3 separate regions of the Homo sapiens genome follow, and regions 2 and 3 are each linked to region 1. Evidence: promoter capture Hi-C in human tissues and cell types (Jung and others, 2019). All regions are on one chromosome and are shown on one strand. The core of a region is centred on a gene start or on the middle of the fragment in contact, and the rest is flanking DNA. Distances in the headings are between cores, read along the strand shown.

Region 1 (4,799 bases), core at 720-3,219:
CTGTAATTTTTTCAAGAAATAAAGTATACTTAGAATGTAGTTATTACTCTGCAAAAAATCTTTTACTCCTCTTAAATTTATATACAAATACTTTTTCTATCAACTTTAGTTTTAGATTATTTTCTATACTCAGAACTCTTGACTTAGTATATCTGCAGTGTCAGTTCCTTATATATTTCTATTATAAATTCTGATATTTACATAGCCCTAATTTGGATTAAATATTTTTTCATTTTTAGTGCATCTTCAAAAATATTCTTCAGTATAAACTCTGGTGTTTTCTGATGTAGTTTTTGAAAAAGTGTTTTTCCACATTTATTATATCTGCAAGACACTTTTCCAATATAAGTGCCCTAATGTTGAACAAAGCTTGAGCAACTGCTTCAGAGTTTTCCTCTAGTACAAAATGTGTACAATAAAATTTGATTCAAGTAAAGGTACTACAACCCTCTTTATGTTTGTAATGTCCATCTTCAATATAAATTCTCTTCTTCACTTTAAAGGGTTATATTTTTCTGAAAGACCTTTTGACAGTAATTGCCCTTATCTTGCTTTTATTAAGTATGAACTCTCTGGTGTTAAGATGTAAGCAGATATTAATGTCTTTTTCACAGTCTGTATTTGTATAATTTTTCTCAAACATAAATGCTTTTCTGTGCAATAAGGTGGTTAAGTTTTGCCACATTGCTCTCACTTGTAGGATTTCTTTCCAGTATGAATTATATTGAATGTAATCAAGTAAGGCAGGGAGTGGTGGCTCATGCCTGTAATCCCAGCACTTTGGGAGGCCCGAGGTGGGCGGATCACCTGAGGTCAGGAGTTTGAGACCAGCCTGGCCAAGATGGTCATACCCCATCTCTACTAAAAGTACAAAAATTAGCCAGGCGTGGTGGCAGGTGCCTGTAATCCCAGCTACTTGGGAGGCTGAGGTAGGAGAATCACTTGAACCTGGGAGGCGGAGTTTGCAGTGAGCCGACATCATGCCATTGCACACCAGCCTGGGGGACAAGAGTGAGACTTCATCTCAAAAAAAGAAAAAAGTCAAGTATGACAACCATTTAAAGACTTTGTCACATTCTTCACATTTCTAGGATTTCTCACCAATATGATTCTTTTTATGGTTAGAAAAGCTTGAGGTGTTGTCAAAAGCATTATTGCATCTTTCTGGTTTGTGGAGTTTCTTTCCAGTATGAATTATCTTATGTGTGTTAAGATCTGAGGACTAGTGGCTGAGCGTGGTGGCTCATGCCTGTAATCCCAGCACTTTGGGAGGCTGAGGTGGGCAGATTACAAGGTCAGGAGTTCAAGACCAGCCTGATCTACATGGAGAAACCCCATCTCTGCTAAACATACAAAATTAGATGGGTATAGTGGTGCATGCCTGTAATCCCAGCTACTCGGGAGGCTGAGGCAGAATTGCTTAAACCTGGGAGACGGAGGTTGCAGTGAGCTGAAATCATGCCACAGTATTGCAGCCTTGGCAACAAGAGTGAAACTCCATCTCTAAAAATAATAATAATAACTGAGAACTAGTTAAAGCTTTTGCCATATTTTTCACACTCATAAGGTTAATCTCCAATATGAATTTTCTTATGTTTGGTAAGAATTGAGGACTGGTTAAAGGCTTTGTCACATTCCTCACATTTGTAGTGTTTCTCTCCTGTATGAATTATTTTGTTCAAAAAGGTTTGTAGGACTGGTTAAAAGCTTTGCCACATTCTTCACAGTTGTGAGGTTTCTCTCCAGTATGAATTATGTTATGTTTAGTGGGAGTTGAGGACTGGATAACGGCTTTACCACATCCTTCACATTTCTAAGATTTTTCTCCAGTATGAGTTATCTTATGTTTAGTAAGGTTTGAGGATTGATTAAAAGCTTTGCCACATGGGTGGGATTTCCCTCCAGCATTAATTATCTTATGTGTAGTAAGGGTTGAGGATTAGTTAAAAGGTTTGCTACATTTTTCACATTTGTAAGGCTTCTCCACAGTATAAATTATCTTATGTGCAGAAAGTTGAGGGGACCATTAAAGGCTTTGCCACATTCCTCACGTTTGTAGGTTTTCTCTCCAGTACAAATTATCTTGTTTAGTAATGGATGAGGATTTCTTAAAAGCTTTGCCACATTCTTCACATTTGTATAATTTCTCTCCTGTAAGATTTTATGTTTAATAAGGTATGAGAATCTATAAAAAGTTTTGAGATATTCTTCATATTTGTAGGGTTTCTCTCCAGCACGAATTACCTTATGTGTCATCAGGGTTGAGAAGTGGTTAAAAGCTTTGTGACATTCTTCATATTTGTAGGATTTCTCTCTGCTATGAATTCTGTTTAGTAAGTGTTGAGGACAAATTAAAGCCTTTGCCACATTCTTCACATTTGTAGAATTTCTCTCCAGAATGAATCACCTTATTTTTAGTAAAGTATGAGAATCAATAAAAACCTTTGCCACATTCTTCACATTTGTAGGGTATCTCTCCAGCATGAATTACCTTATGTGTAGTAAGGGTTGAGTACCGGTTAAAAGCTTTGCCACATTCTTGACATTTGTAGAGTTTCTCTCCAGTATGAATTATCTTATGTGCAGTAAGGCATGAGTACCAGTTAAAAGCTTTCTCACATTCTTTACATTTGTAGGGTTTCCTTCCAGTATGATTTCTCTTATGTGCAGTAAGGTGTGAGGACTGGTTAAGAGCTTTCTCACATTCTTCACATTTGCAGGGTTTCTCTCTAGTATGAACTCTCTTATTTTTTTTATTTATTTATTTATTTTTTTGGAGATAGAGTCTCTCTCTGTCATCCAGGCTGGAGTGCAGTGGAGCCATCTCAGCTCACTGCAACCTCCACCTCCTGGGTTCAAGCGATTCTCCCACCTAGGCCTCCAGAGTAGCTGGGACTACAGGTGTGCACCACTACACCTGGCTAATTTTTTATATTTTTAGTAGAGATGGGGTTTCACCATATGGGCCAGGCTGGTCTTGAACTCTTGACCAGGTGATCTGCCTGCCTCAGCCTCCCAAAGTGCTGGGATTACAGGCATGAGCCACCGCACCCAGTCAAACTCTTTTATCTTTAGTAAGGGTAGAGGACCATTGACCAGGTGATCTGCCTGCCTCAGCCTCCCAAAGTGCTGGGATTACAGGCATGAGCCACCGCACCCAGTCAAACTCTTTTATCTTTAGTAAGGGTAGAGGACCAGTCAAAGCCTTTGCCACATTCTTCACATTTGTAGAAATTCTCTTCCGCATGAATTCTCCTATGTGTAGTAAAGTATGAGTACTGGTTATAAGGTTTGCCACATTTTTTACATTTGTAGTGTTATTCTCCAATATGAATTATCTTATGTATAGTAAGGGTTGAAGATTGGTTAAAAGCTTTGCCACATTCTTCACATTTGTAGGGTGTCTCTCCAGTATGAATTTTCTTATGTTTAGTAAGGTTTGAGGACCAGTTATAAGCTTTGCCACATTCTTCACATTTGTAGGGTTTCTCTCCAGTATGAACTCTCTTATGTCTAGTAAGAGTTGAGGACTGGTTAAAAGCTTTTCCACATTCTTCACATTTGTAGGGTTTCTCTCCAGTATGAGTTATCTTATGATTAGTAAGGTTTGAGGATTTTTAAAAAGCTTTGCCACATTCTTCACATTTGTAGGGTTTCTCTCCAGTATGAATTATCTTATGTCTAGTAATTTGTGAGGAACAGTTAAAAGCTTTGCCACTTTCTTCATGTTTGTAGGGTCTCTCTCCAGTATGAATCATCTTATGTGTAGTAAGGTATGAGAATTGGTAGAAATCTTTGCCACATTCTAAACATTTGTAGGGTTTCTCTCCATTATGAATTCTCTTATGTTTAGTAAGGGTTGAGAATACATTAAAGGCTTTGCCACATTCTTCACACTTGTAGGGTCTCTCTCCAGTATGAATTATCTTATGTTTAGTAAGGGTTGAGAATACACTAAAGGCTTTGCCACATTCTTCACATTTGTAGGGTTTCTCACCAGTATGAATTCTCTTATGTGTAGTAAGGCGTGAGTACCAGTTAAAAGCTTTGCCACATTCCTCACATTTGTAGCGTTTCTCTACAGTATGAATCATCTTATGTGTAGTAAGATAAGATAATCGGTAGAAAGCTTTGCCACATTCTTCACATTTGTAGGGTTTCTCTCCAGTGTGAATTCTCTTATGTGTAGTAAGGTAAATGAATCGGTAGAAAGCTTTGCCACATTCTTCACATTTGTAGGGTTTCTCTCCAGTATGAATCAACTTATGTGCAGTAAGGTAGGAGTAACAGTTAAAAGCTTTGCCACATTCTTCACATTTGTAGGGTTTCTCTCCAGTATGAATTATCTTATGTGTAGTAAGGTATGAGAATCTGAAGAAAGCTTTGCCACATTCTCCACATTTGTAGGGTTTCTCTCCAGAATGAATTTTCATGAGTAGTAAGGTTTGAGGACTGTTTAAAAGCTTTGCCACATTCCTCACATTTGTAGGGTTTCTCTTCAGTATGAATTATCTTATGTCTAGTAAGGGTTGCGAATACATTAAAGGCTTTGCCACATTATTCACATTTGTAGGGTTTCTCTCCAGTATGAATTATCTTATGTCTGGTAAGGTGTGAGTACCAATTAAAAGCTTTGCCACATTCCTCACATTTGTAGGGTTTCTCTCCAGTATGAATTATCTTATGTTTAGTAAGGTATGAGAATTGGCAGAAAGCTTTGCCACATCCTTCACATTTGTAGGGTTTCTCTCCAGCATGAATTGTCTTATGTTTAGTAAGGTGTGAGGACTGTTTAAAAT
Region 2 (4,799 bases), core at 1,514-4,013, 450 kb before region 1:
AGAGAAGATTACGACAAATTTCTAAGTGCAGTGTATCTTGTTTATCTTGTGCTGACCTCCTATCTCATCCTGTGACTAAGAATGCCTAACCTGGGGAGGCAGCCAAGTAGGTTTCAGCATATTTCACACAGCTGCTATTCAAGATTGAGTTGCTCTGGTTTGAATGCCTCCAACATTAAGATCCACTATAAAATTATGAAAAAAGTCTAGAGTAAATGAGAATTAAATTAGGATGGGCTATTCTACCCTGGGTGCGGTGGCTTACTCCTGTAATCCCAGCACGTTGGGAGGCCAAGGCGGGCGAATCACCTGAGGTCAGGAGTTTGAGACCAGCCTGGCCAACATGGGGAAACCCCGTCTCTACTAAAAATACAAAAATTAGCCAGGTGTGGTAGCGCACATCTGTAATCCCAGCTACTCGGGAGGCTGAGGCAGGGGAATTGCTTGAACCCAGGAGGCGGAGGTTGCAGTGAGCTGAGATTGCACCACTGCACTCCAGCCTGGGTAATAGAGCGAGACTGTATCTCCAAAAAAAAAAAAAAAAATTTAGAATGGGCTATTCTGAAAGATGTAGCAATAATTATATTTGTGTTTATGAGTTTTTTTTATTAACCTCTACACTTGATAATGAAAGAGGTTTCCACTGCTAAAGGAAAATAAATCTCTTGATGCCAAAATTACTAAGCCACTAGAAAAGTCAAGTTGAGAACTATGTCAGGCAAATCTGCCTCCCATTTTATTTCTAAATAAGATAGCTACAAAGATAAAAAAGCTACATACTTTCTTTACAATTAGCCAACAAGGAAATTCCTTGAGAACCAAAGACAGACAGAACTCAGAGTCATTTCTCTGAGCCTCGCCTGAGACAAATGCACATCTGATTGCTTCCTCTGCACTGCTGTTAATTTAGATATGCAGGTTCACTGAGCCAGACTAAATTGTATTCAGTTGAATGCTTATCAAGGACTCAAGAATCCAGACTTTTATCTCTTATTTACTTATGACCTGGAAGCCCTCACCTCAAGTTGTCCTGCATTACTGGATCAAACCAAGAAAGAGAGAGAGGAAGGAGGAGGTGGAGAAGGAAAAAGGTAGGGAAGGAAGATCTTATACATATTGATTGATGTCTCATGCTTTCCTAAAATGTTTAAAAGCTGCTGGGCATGGTGGCTCACACCTGTAATCCCAGCACTTTGGGAGGCTAAGGCGAGCAGTTCACCAGGTCAGGAGACATCCTGGCTAACAGGGTGAAACCCTGTCTCTACTAAAAATACAAAAAATTAGCTGGTATTCATAGAAAATATAATTTTTAATTATCGAGTAATCTGAATAAATGAATATATCATAAAAAAATTAGCTGGGCATGGGGTCATGCACCTGTATCCCCAGCTACTTGGTAGGCTGAGTCAGGAGAATCGCTTGAACCTGGGAGGCGGAGGTTGCAGTGAGCCGAGATTGTGCCACTGCACTCCAGCCTGGTCGACAGAGCAAGACTCCGTCTCAAAAAAAAAAAAAAAAAAAAAAAAAAAGTAAGTGTAGGCAAATGTAGATGCAAATACACATCTGTTTACACAAATTCCTACTTTCAAAATCACAGAGAATGGTCACTTTTTAGCCTTTTTATGAATAAAATCCTGGATTCCATTTATTATTCCATTAGAACTTCTGTACCTATTTTGAAATTTGAGATTAAATTGTCTTTTGCTGAGTTTGCCCAGTTTATATTTCAAGTAATACTATATCATGGGAACACATTAGAGATTTTCTATATTTTTATGTTTTACATCAGTTTCTAAAACCTGGAAATTATCTTGTTTTGAATTTCTTATGAAAATGGAATACTATCCACTAAGAATATTCCATTAGCATACTGCAACTTAAAGTCAGGAGATCTAAACTTTTTCTGGTAACATTACCTATATTTAGTTTTTTAAAAAATGTTCTCTTTTTGTATATGCTTTTTAATTTGCTTTTAAAACATGTGCATAACATTTCCTTGAATTCTATTAATGGACCTCAATGCTTTAAAAAAATTTTTTGATAAAATAATTCAGTCTGAATGTGATGGTTCATGCCTATAATCCCAGTACTTTGGGAGGCTGACTTTGTAGGATTCATTGAGCCCAAGAGTTTGAGACCATTCTGGGCTATCTAGTGAGGCTTCATCTCTACAAATAAAAATATGATAACAAATTAGCTGAGCATGGGGCCACATGCCAGTGGTCCCAGCTACTCAGAAGGCTGAGACAGGTAAATTGCTCAAGCCTAGATTGCTGAGGCTGCAGTGAGCTGCAGTCATGACCCTGCACTCCAGCCTGGGTAACAGAGACTCCCTCTCAAGAATAAGAAAAACCCCACAGAGGATAAATAATAAAATATTCAATGTTTGTAATACTTCCTACTCAAAGGGCCAGAAGCCAGGAAGGTCATAAAAGCTGAAATTCAAAAACAATTGTTTTCATTTTTTAGTATCCATATAGTATATTACTTATAAGTGAAGATGACCTTATACACAAGGTTAAAGGCAAATACCCTCTGGGTTGGGCCTGCTCTGCTCAGGGAGGAAGCCCTGCCTGAAAAGGCGGCAGCCTAGGCTGTCATTCTTTCTTCTTTCAGCCCAGCGTCTGATCACATCTTTCATTCAGGGTTTGCGGGGGCAGGACCTTAGAAGTTATCCAATCAGGGACGCTGGGCTGGAAACCGTCCAATCAGGCACGGGGCAGGAGAGGACAGGGCGGCTTCCGGGATGTGGCGGGGCCTTTGTCTCTGGCTGCAGTTGGAGCTCTGCGTCTCGTCTTCGTTCTTCTGTGTCCTCTGCTGCTAGAGGTCCAGCCTCTGTGGCTCTGTGACCTGCGGGTATTGGGGGATCCACAGCTAAGACGCCAGGACCCCCCGGAAGCCTAGAAATGGTGAGAGTGCCGGTCCGACATCCCGAGAGGGGGAAGGGGCTGTGGCGTGACTCAGGCCTTCCCGCAGTCAGCTCCACAATCTGCGCGTGCCGGAGTTCTTGCCCAGCTCGGCCTCAATCCCCTTCAGCCATAAGATGGCGGCTGCTCTGGGAGGCAGCCCCGGGCGTCCTGTCTCTTCTCTGCGCAGTGACTGTGTCCCGGCCTGCAGCCCTCTGTGGGCAGCTCTGCAGCCGCAACGCGGCGTCTCTCCCAAATTGTGCAGGGGCCACAGGAGGGTCGTCAGGAGAGAATCCTGACTCGTGATGCAGTTTCATGAATAGGAAGAGCTTTGGTCCGTGGCATTTCTAGTCCCTCTTTTGGTCTATTAGAAACAGGAGAGTCGGCCGGGCGCGGTGGGTCACGCCTTTAATCCCAGCACTTTGGGAGGTCGAGGTGGGTGGATGACGAGGTGAGGAGTTCGAGAGCAGCCTGGCTAATATGGTGAACCCCGTCTATACTAAAAATACAAAAATTAGCTGGGCGTGGTGGCGCGCGCCTGTAATCGCAGCTACTAGGGAGGCTGAGACAGGAAAATCGCTTGAACCCAGGAGGCGGAGGATGCAGTGAGCCGAGATCGCGCCATTGCACTCCAGCCTGGGCCACAGAGTGAAACTCCCTCTGGAAAAAAAAAAAAAAAAAAACTAAACTAGATTTTCCTTTATTTCTGACATTCCCAAATGCCACCTTCTTCTCCGCAATTCACGTTATCAACTATTTTTTCTTTTTTTTCTTTTTTTTTTTTTTTTTGAGATGGACTTTCGCTTTTGCTGCCCAGGCTGGAGTGCAATGGTGCTATCTCGGCTCCCTGCAACCTCCGTCTCCCGGATTCAAGCGATTTTCTTGCCTCAGCCTCCTTAGTAGCTGGGATTACAGGTGCCTGCCACCACACCCAGCTAATTTTTTTTGTATTTTTAGTAAAGACGGGATTTCACTATATTGGCCAGGTGGTCTCGAACTCCTGAGCTCAGATGATCCACCCGCCTCAGCCTCCCAAAGTGCTAGGATTACAGCACTTAAAAATAGCCACCGAGCCGGGCTATTTTTTTTTTTTTTTTAGTGTACATTTTAGATACAGAGATACGTTTTAGATAAAGATATTTTAGATATCTGTATATTTTTGATACAGATATTTTAATTATTTTTTGAAAAATCATTGGATGGACTTAAATAAATTTTCCTTTCTTCTTTCCTTCTTCTTTCTTTCCTTCCTTCCTTCCTTCCTTCCATCTTTCCATCCTTGCTTCCATCCTTCCTCTCGCTTTGTTTCCCAGGCTGGAGTGCAATGGTGCAATCTCAGCTCATTGCAACCTCCCGGGTTCAACCGATTCTCCTGCCTCAGCCTCCCGAGTAGCTGGAATTACAGGCACCTGCCACCGTGCCTGGTTAATTTTTTTGTATTTTTAGTTGAGACAGGGTTTCACCTTGTTGGCCAAGCTGGTTTCGAACTCCTGACCTTGTGATCCACCCGCCTTGGCCTCCCAAAGTGCAAGGATTACAGGCGTGAGCCACCGAGTCCGGCCTAAATTTTGTTTTCTATTTGAAAATATTTTCCATATTGAAAAGAAAGCAAAAAATAATCCCCTTACACTGTTTGTAAAAAATAAAAATCTCTGTGCCTCTTTTCCTTTTCTTTTTTTCTTTACTTTTTTTTTTTTTTTTTTGAGACAGTGTTGCTTTGCTGCCCAGTCTGGAGTGCAGTGATGTGATCTCTGCTCACTGCAACCTCTGCCTCCCTGATTCAAGTGATTCTTTTGCTTCAGCCACTCCAGTAGCTGGAACTACCGGCACCTACCACCATTCCCAGCTAATTTTTGTATTTTTGTTAGAGACAAGGTTTTTCCATGTTGACCA
Region 3 (4,799 bases), core at 633-3,132, 380 kb before region 1:
AGTCAGATAAAGTTGATCCTGAGTCTCAGCCCAGCCACTTAGTAGCCGTAGGACTTTGCACAAGTTTCCTGATGTGGAAGAGTTCTATATACCACATATGCAAAAAAGGTAGAATGATACTGATTGCAAAATGACATTTTTTCATCCCTCTTGTATCTTTGCCCATAACCAGGTGCTTTTACAGCTGTTTCCATCAAGATCTGGAATCTGTTTTCAAAGCCCTATATCTGGCTGACCTTATTTGCTCAGGTCAACAGAAACCTGTGAACATGACAGTGGGCCAGTTTGGGGCCCAGGCTCAAATGGTATTGACTGCTTCTCTTTTTCTTTTAGAATGCTGCCATCTCCATGAATAATGCCCATGTTAGCCAGCTGGAAAATAAGATACCATGAAGAGGAGAAGCAAGGTGCCCCTGTTGACAGACCCAGGAGCAGAAGCTCACCCCCAGATGCACAGCTGTCTAGTCAAAAAGCAGGTGATGATACATGTCTGAAGGAGCTCAGCTGAGACCAGAAGAATGGCCCCACTCAGCTCGGCCTAAATGGCCAACCATTTCAATTATAAACTAATAAGTTTTGGATGATTTGTTATGCCTCAATAGCTAACTAATACATGCACCCAGTACAGATAAGTTGCCAGGATTCAGTGACAGGTTGACTAAGAGTTGGCTTCTAACAGTGGACACCCTCTAGGTACTGATTTCTTCCCCTGATTTAAAGTTCGATGTTTTGTAAGAGAATTTTGGGTAATGCAGAAATACCTGTAGACATGTATGCGTGTGATTGGTGCTTAGACTCACATAGTCCCCCACACCACAGGAGAAAACAGATAAACACAGCCTGATTGTTAGGGCCAAGACCATATAGCAAACTATGTTTGTTTTTAATCTATTTTCTCCATCTCTAAATACTGGAGTTCAAGTGTGTGGACAGAACTGAAGACATAGTTGTTTTTTCTCCTGTGGCCCCATCATCCTTTGTTCACTATCTGGTCTCTAAAAGAAAGGTGGGCAACAGGTGGCCAGCAGTTGTTTATTACCTGTGGCTATTTTATTCCTACTGCCCTCAGCTCTTTCTATGGGAACTATCTGGTCCACCCTAGGAACCAAAGAGAGATGTTTGTAGGGAGAGTCTCTTCTTTCACTCTCGCAGGAAAGAGATGTTCAGGCCCTTCACACCGCTGACATCAGAGCTGCACTTCAATGTGACAGCTATTGTCCATGTGTGGCTACTGGGTTCCCACAATGTGCCTGGTCTGAAATGCGATATGCTAGAAAGGTAAAATACAAAGTCAGCTTCAAAGATTTAGTTCCAAATATTTATATATTTTATCAATAATTACATATTTCTCACACATTAAAATGATAATATTTTGAATATAATGGGTGAATTACATTGTTAACAATCAGTTCAACTTGTTTCTTTTTAAAGTTTGGCTACTAGAAAATTTCAAATCCACATGTGGCTGACATTCATTTTAGATGATTTTCTCTTTTCTAAAATCTCAGGCTGCCTGCTCAAAGGGCCAGAAGCCAGGAAGGTCATAAAAGCTGAAATTTTAAAATAATTGTTATATTCTTTTCACTTGTGTATAGCTATATAATGTATTATTTATTTATACATATGACCTTATACACAAATTTAAAGGCAAATACTCTCTGGGATGGGCCTAGCTCAGCTGAGGGAGGAAGCCCTGTCAGAAGAGGGGGCAGTCTAGGCTGTCACTCTTTCTTCATTGAACCCGCATCTGATCACATCTTCTGTCACTCAAAGCCTGACAGGGCGGGGATTTAAGCATTATCCAACCAGGGACGCTGGGCTGGAAACCGTCCAATCAGGCATGCAGCTGGAGCGGACTGGACGGCTTCCGGGTTTGGCGGGGTCTTTGTCTCTCGCTGTAGCCGGAGCTCCAGGTTTTGCTCTCACTTCTCTGTGTCTTCTGCTCCTAGGGGCCTAGCCTGTGTGGCCCTCTGACCTGCAGATATTGGGAGATCCACAGCTAAGACGCCAGGACCCCCTAGAAGCCTAGAAATGGTGAGAGTGCCCGGTCCGACATCCCGAGAGACGGCGAAAGGGCTGGTTGGAACTGGTGGGAAGTAGCTGTGGCGGGACTCAGGCCTCTCCGCAGTCAGCTTCACAATCTGCGCCTTGCCCAGCTCGGCCTCCGTCCCCTTCGGCCATAAGATGGCGGCTGCGCTGACAGCCAGGACCCCAGGCGTCCTTTCTCTTCCCTGCGTAGTGACTGTGCCTTGGCCTGGAGCCCTCTCTTGGCAGCTCTGCACCCGCAGCGCCGCGTCTCTCTCAGATTGTGCAGGGACCACGGGAGGGTCGTCAGGGGAAAATCCTGACTCGGGGTGCGGGTTCATGAATGGGAAGATCTTTGGTCCGTGGCTTTCCCAGTTCCTCTTTTCTCCTATTAAAAATGTATGGGAGTCACTGCACAAATATTAACGATTTTTTTGTTTGTTTGAGACGGAGTCGCTCTGTCGCCCAGGCTAGGGTTTAGTGGCGCGATCTCCCCTCACTGCAACCTCCGCCTCCCGGGTTCTGGAGATTCTCCTGGCTCAGCCTCCCGAGTAACTGGGATTACAGGCGCCTGTCACTGGGCCGGCCTTATTTTTTTGTATTTTTAGTTGGGACGGGGTTTCACCTCGTTGGCCAGGCTGGTCTTGAACTCCTGACCTCGTGATCCGCCCGCCTTGGCCTCCTAAAGTGCTGGGATTACAGGCGTGAGCCACCGCGCCTGGCCTAAAGAATTTAATCAAACAGTGATTCAAGAATCATAGAGTATCCAGCTATGGTTTGTAGTTTGTTGTCTATGGGAGAGGCTTGAAGGAAAGTCATTTATAAAATGTATGATGAAGAAAACTAAATTTAGTAATTGGTTACAGTAACGTAGTTTCTTGATTTGTACAATACAGGTGAAGATTTCCTGGTTGTGTAATCAGAGGTTAATTAACAGTTTATAGTTGTTTAAGCCTACATTTTCTCTGAATGTAGTAATTAAAAAAAAAATGCACCTGAGTTAGATTTTTTTTTTTTTTAAGTAGGAACCCAGGGACTAGAGACACCTCAGTGGAATTGCCTGTCTCTTAATTATTTTCACACTCCACGGGGAACTGATTTTCTGCTGCATTTTTCACCTGTGTCCCAAGCAGGTTGTTAAGTCTAACCCCCGTCCCCCATTTCTCCAGCCTCACTCTGGCTTGCAGTAAGATACTAAATTTCCAATTTCTTCTGGCGTTCCCAAATGTCAACTTTTCCTTCCTAATTCACATTATCACCTATTTGTCCTTTAGTGTACTTGTTTATACCATATTTTAATTAATTGTTTTTGACAAAGCATTAAATGGCGCTTTTAAGAAGATGTGTTATCCGCTTGTAAATATTTCCCACGAAAAGGAAACAAAGACTAATCCTCTGACACTGTATTGTAGAAAATCTCTGTGTCTCTTTTCCTTTTACCTTCTCTAGGCACAGAGATTTATCAGAATGTTTTTGGGTCAAGGTTTTGATTTGGAAAAATCTATGGGGTGATGTGTCCTCAGCCACCCTTTAGTTTTTTCCTGGTCCTGGGTTTCAGTACTATCTGTGGATAAACCGAGATATCCGCCATGGTTCTGTCAGCTAAAGTGCCTAGTGAATGTCAGCTTCTGGTTTATTTTCTCCCGTAGGATGACCCGAGGTATGGAATGTGTCCTCTCAAGGGAGCAAGTGGATGCCCTGGGGCTGAGAGGAGTCTTCTGGTGCAGTCTTATTTTGAAAAGGTAACCCCTTGAGACATTAAAATTGTCTTCACCCAACCCAGCTTTCATTTCTTGGAGACACGTTGCTGGTCAGCCAATCAGATGCTGGTATTGAGGGGAAACACAAAAATAATTTCTGCTCCCTGGATCATCTAAGGGGGGCAGAAAAATAGTGAAATAAATATAAAGAAAAATATTGGAAAAAAAAGTGAAAATTTTGTTACCAAAAAGTATTCCAAAAGACAAACAACAACAGAACTGACCCCAGTGAGATGGTGTAAGAGCTTGCAAAGTAAAATGCACCTGGGGCAGTCACTGGGGCATAATGCAGTGTCTTCTGAGTGGGTGGTTCTTGAGCACATAAGTGAGCAGGAGTGGGTGGAAGAATCTCTCCAGTGATTGAATGACCTGACTTGAAACATGAGTCAGACACATCTGTTATTTAATCAGCACTGCCACTACCTGGGTTTGTCACCTTGAAGATATTTGTCACTTATTTTGACCTCAGTTTTTTAGCTGTAAATTGCATTATATTAGTAGGGCTTGAAAGGTAGAAAAATATTTACAAAGGTCATGAAAGAGGTGGGTTTCAGAAAAAAATGTCTGATCATGTATTTCATTTGTCAAAAATTTGTTAAAAATTCTCATTTACTGTTTTTCCCAGAGTGAGTTAGGAATTTTCTCAGGTGTGTTTTTTTTATGGCTGAGTGATTTCAAACAGAATTTCAAGGCTTAGCTTTTAGAATGCTCCCAGGCAAAATCTCTCAATTTTAGTTTTGGAAAATGAATACATTTCCACAAGAAAATGTGGTGGATAATTGGTGAGTTACATAGATTCATTAAAACATCAGTTTCTTTTTTTTCAGGGTAAATTTGTGACAGTGAATATCTGTGTTCAGATCCTGTTACATTGATTTTTGAGTTTTATGCTAAATTTTATGAGATGAAACTCGGTACTGTTTAGAAGTGCTCCCATATGACTCATTGTTTACAAAATAATTTTAAATGGAATTAATAAAGTAATACGTTTATTGTCTGAAAGAAATAGATACT

The links. Contacts are between HindIII fragments. The study calls those that stand out against the background at their distance.
Region 2: a contact is called between the fragment with the promoter of ZNF43 here and a fragment that was not itself captured in region 1, in 5 of the 25 tissues and cell types used here (H1 embryonic stem cells, adrenal gland, dorsolateral prefrontal cortex and 2 more).
Region 3: the fragment with the promoter of ZNF100 here is called in contact with a fragment that was not itself captured in region 1 in 2 of the 25 tissues and cell types used here (H1 embryonic stem cells and dorsolateral prefrontal cortex).

What each region holds. Positions count from the first base shown.
Region 1 is chr19:21,383,433-21,388,231 of GRCh38, reverse strand. It overlaps ZNF738 (zinc finger protein 738), which reads right to left. Exons shown (of 5, transcript NM_001355237.2): 5 at 1-4,799. The coding sequence ends at 4,558. Among named protein-coding and RNA genes, the nearest start is that of ZNF493, 11 kb to the left of the region's middle. The HindIII fragment of the contact is 5,408 bases long and covers 1-4,673 here.
Region 2 is chr19:21,834,146-21,838,944 of GRCh38, reverse strand. ZNF43 (zinc finger protein 43) reads left to right here and starts at 2,763. Exons shown (of 4, transcript NM_003423.4): 1 at 2,763-2,909. The coding sequence starts at 2,907. RefSeq lists enhancers at 1,726-2,698, 2,810-2,969, 2,990-3,039, 3,080-3,169, 2,699-3,672. The HindIII fragment of the contact is 27,139 bases long and covers 1-4,799 here.
Region 3 is chr19:21,764,662-21,769,460 of GRCh38, reverse strand. ZNF100 (zinc finger protein 100) reads left to right here and starts at 1,882. Exons shown (of 5, transcript NM_173531.4): 1 at 1,882-2,034; 2 at 3,675-3,767. The coding sequence starts at 2,032. RefSeq lists a silencer at 1,718-1,895. The HindIII fragment of the contact is 21,319 bases long and covers 1-4,799 here.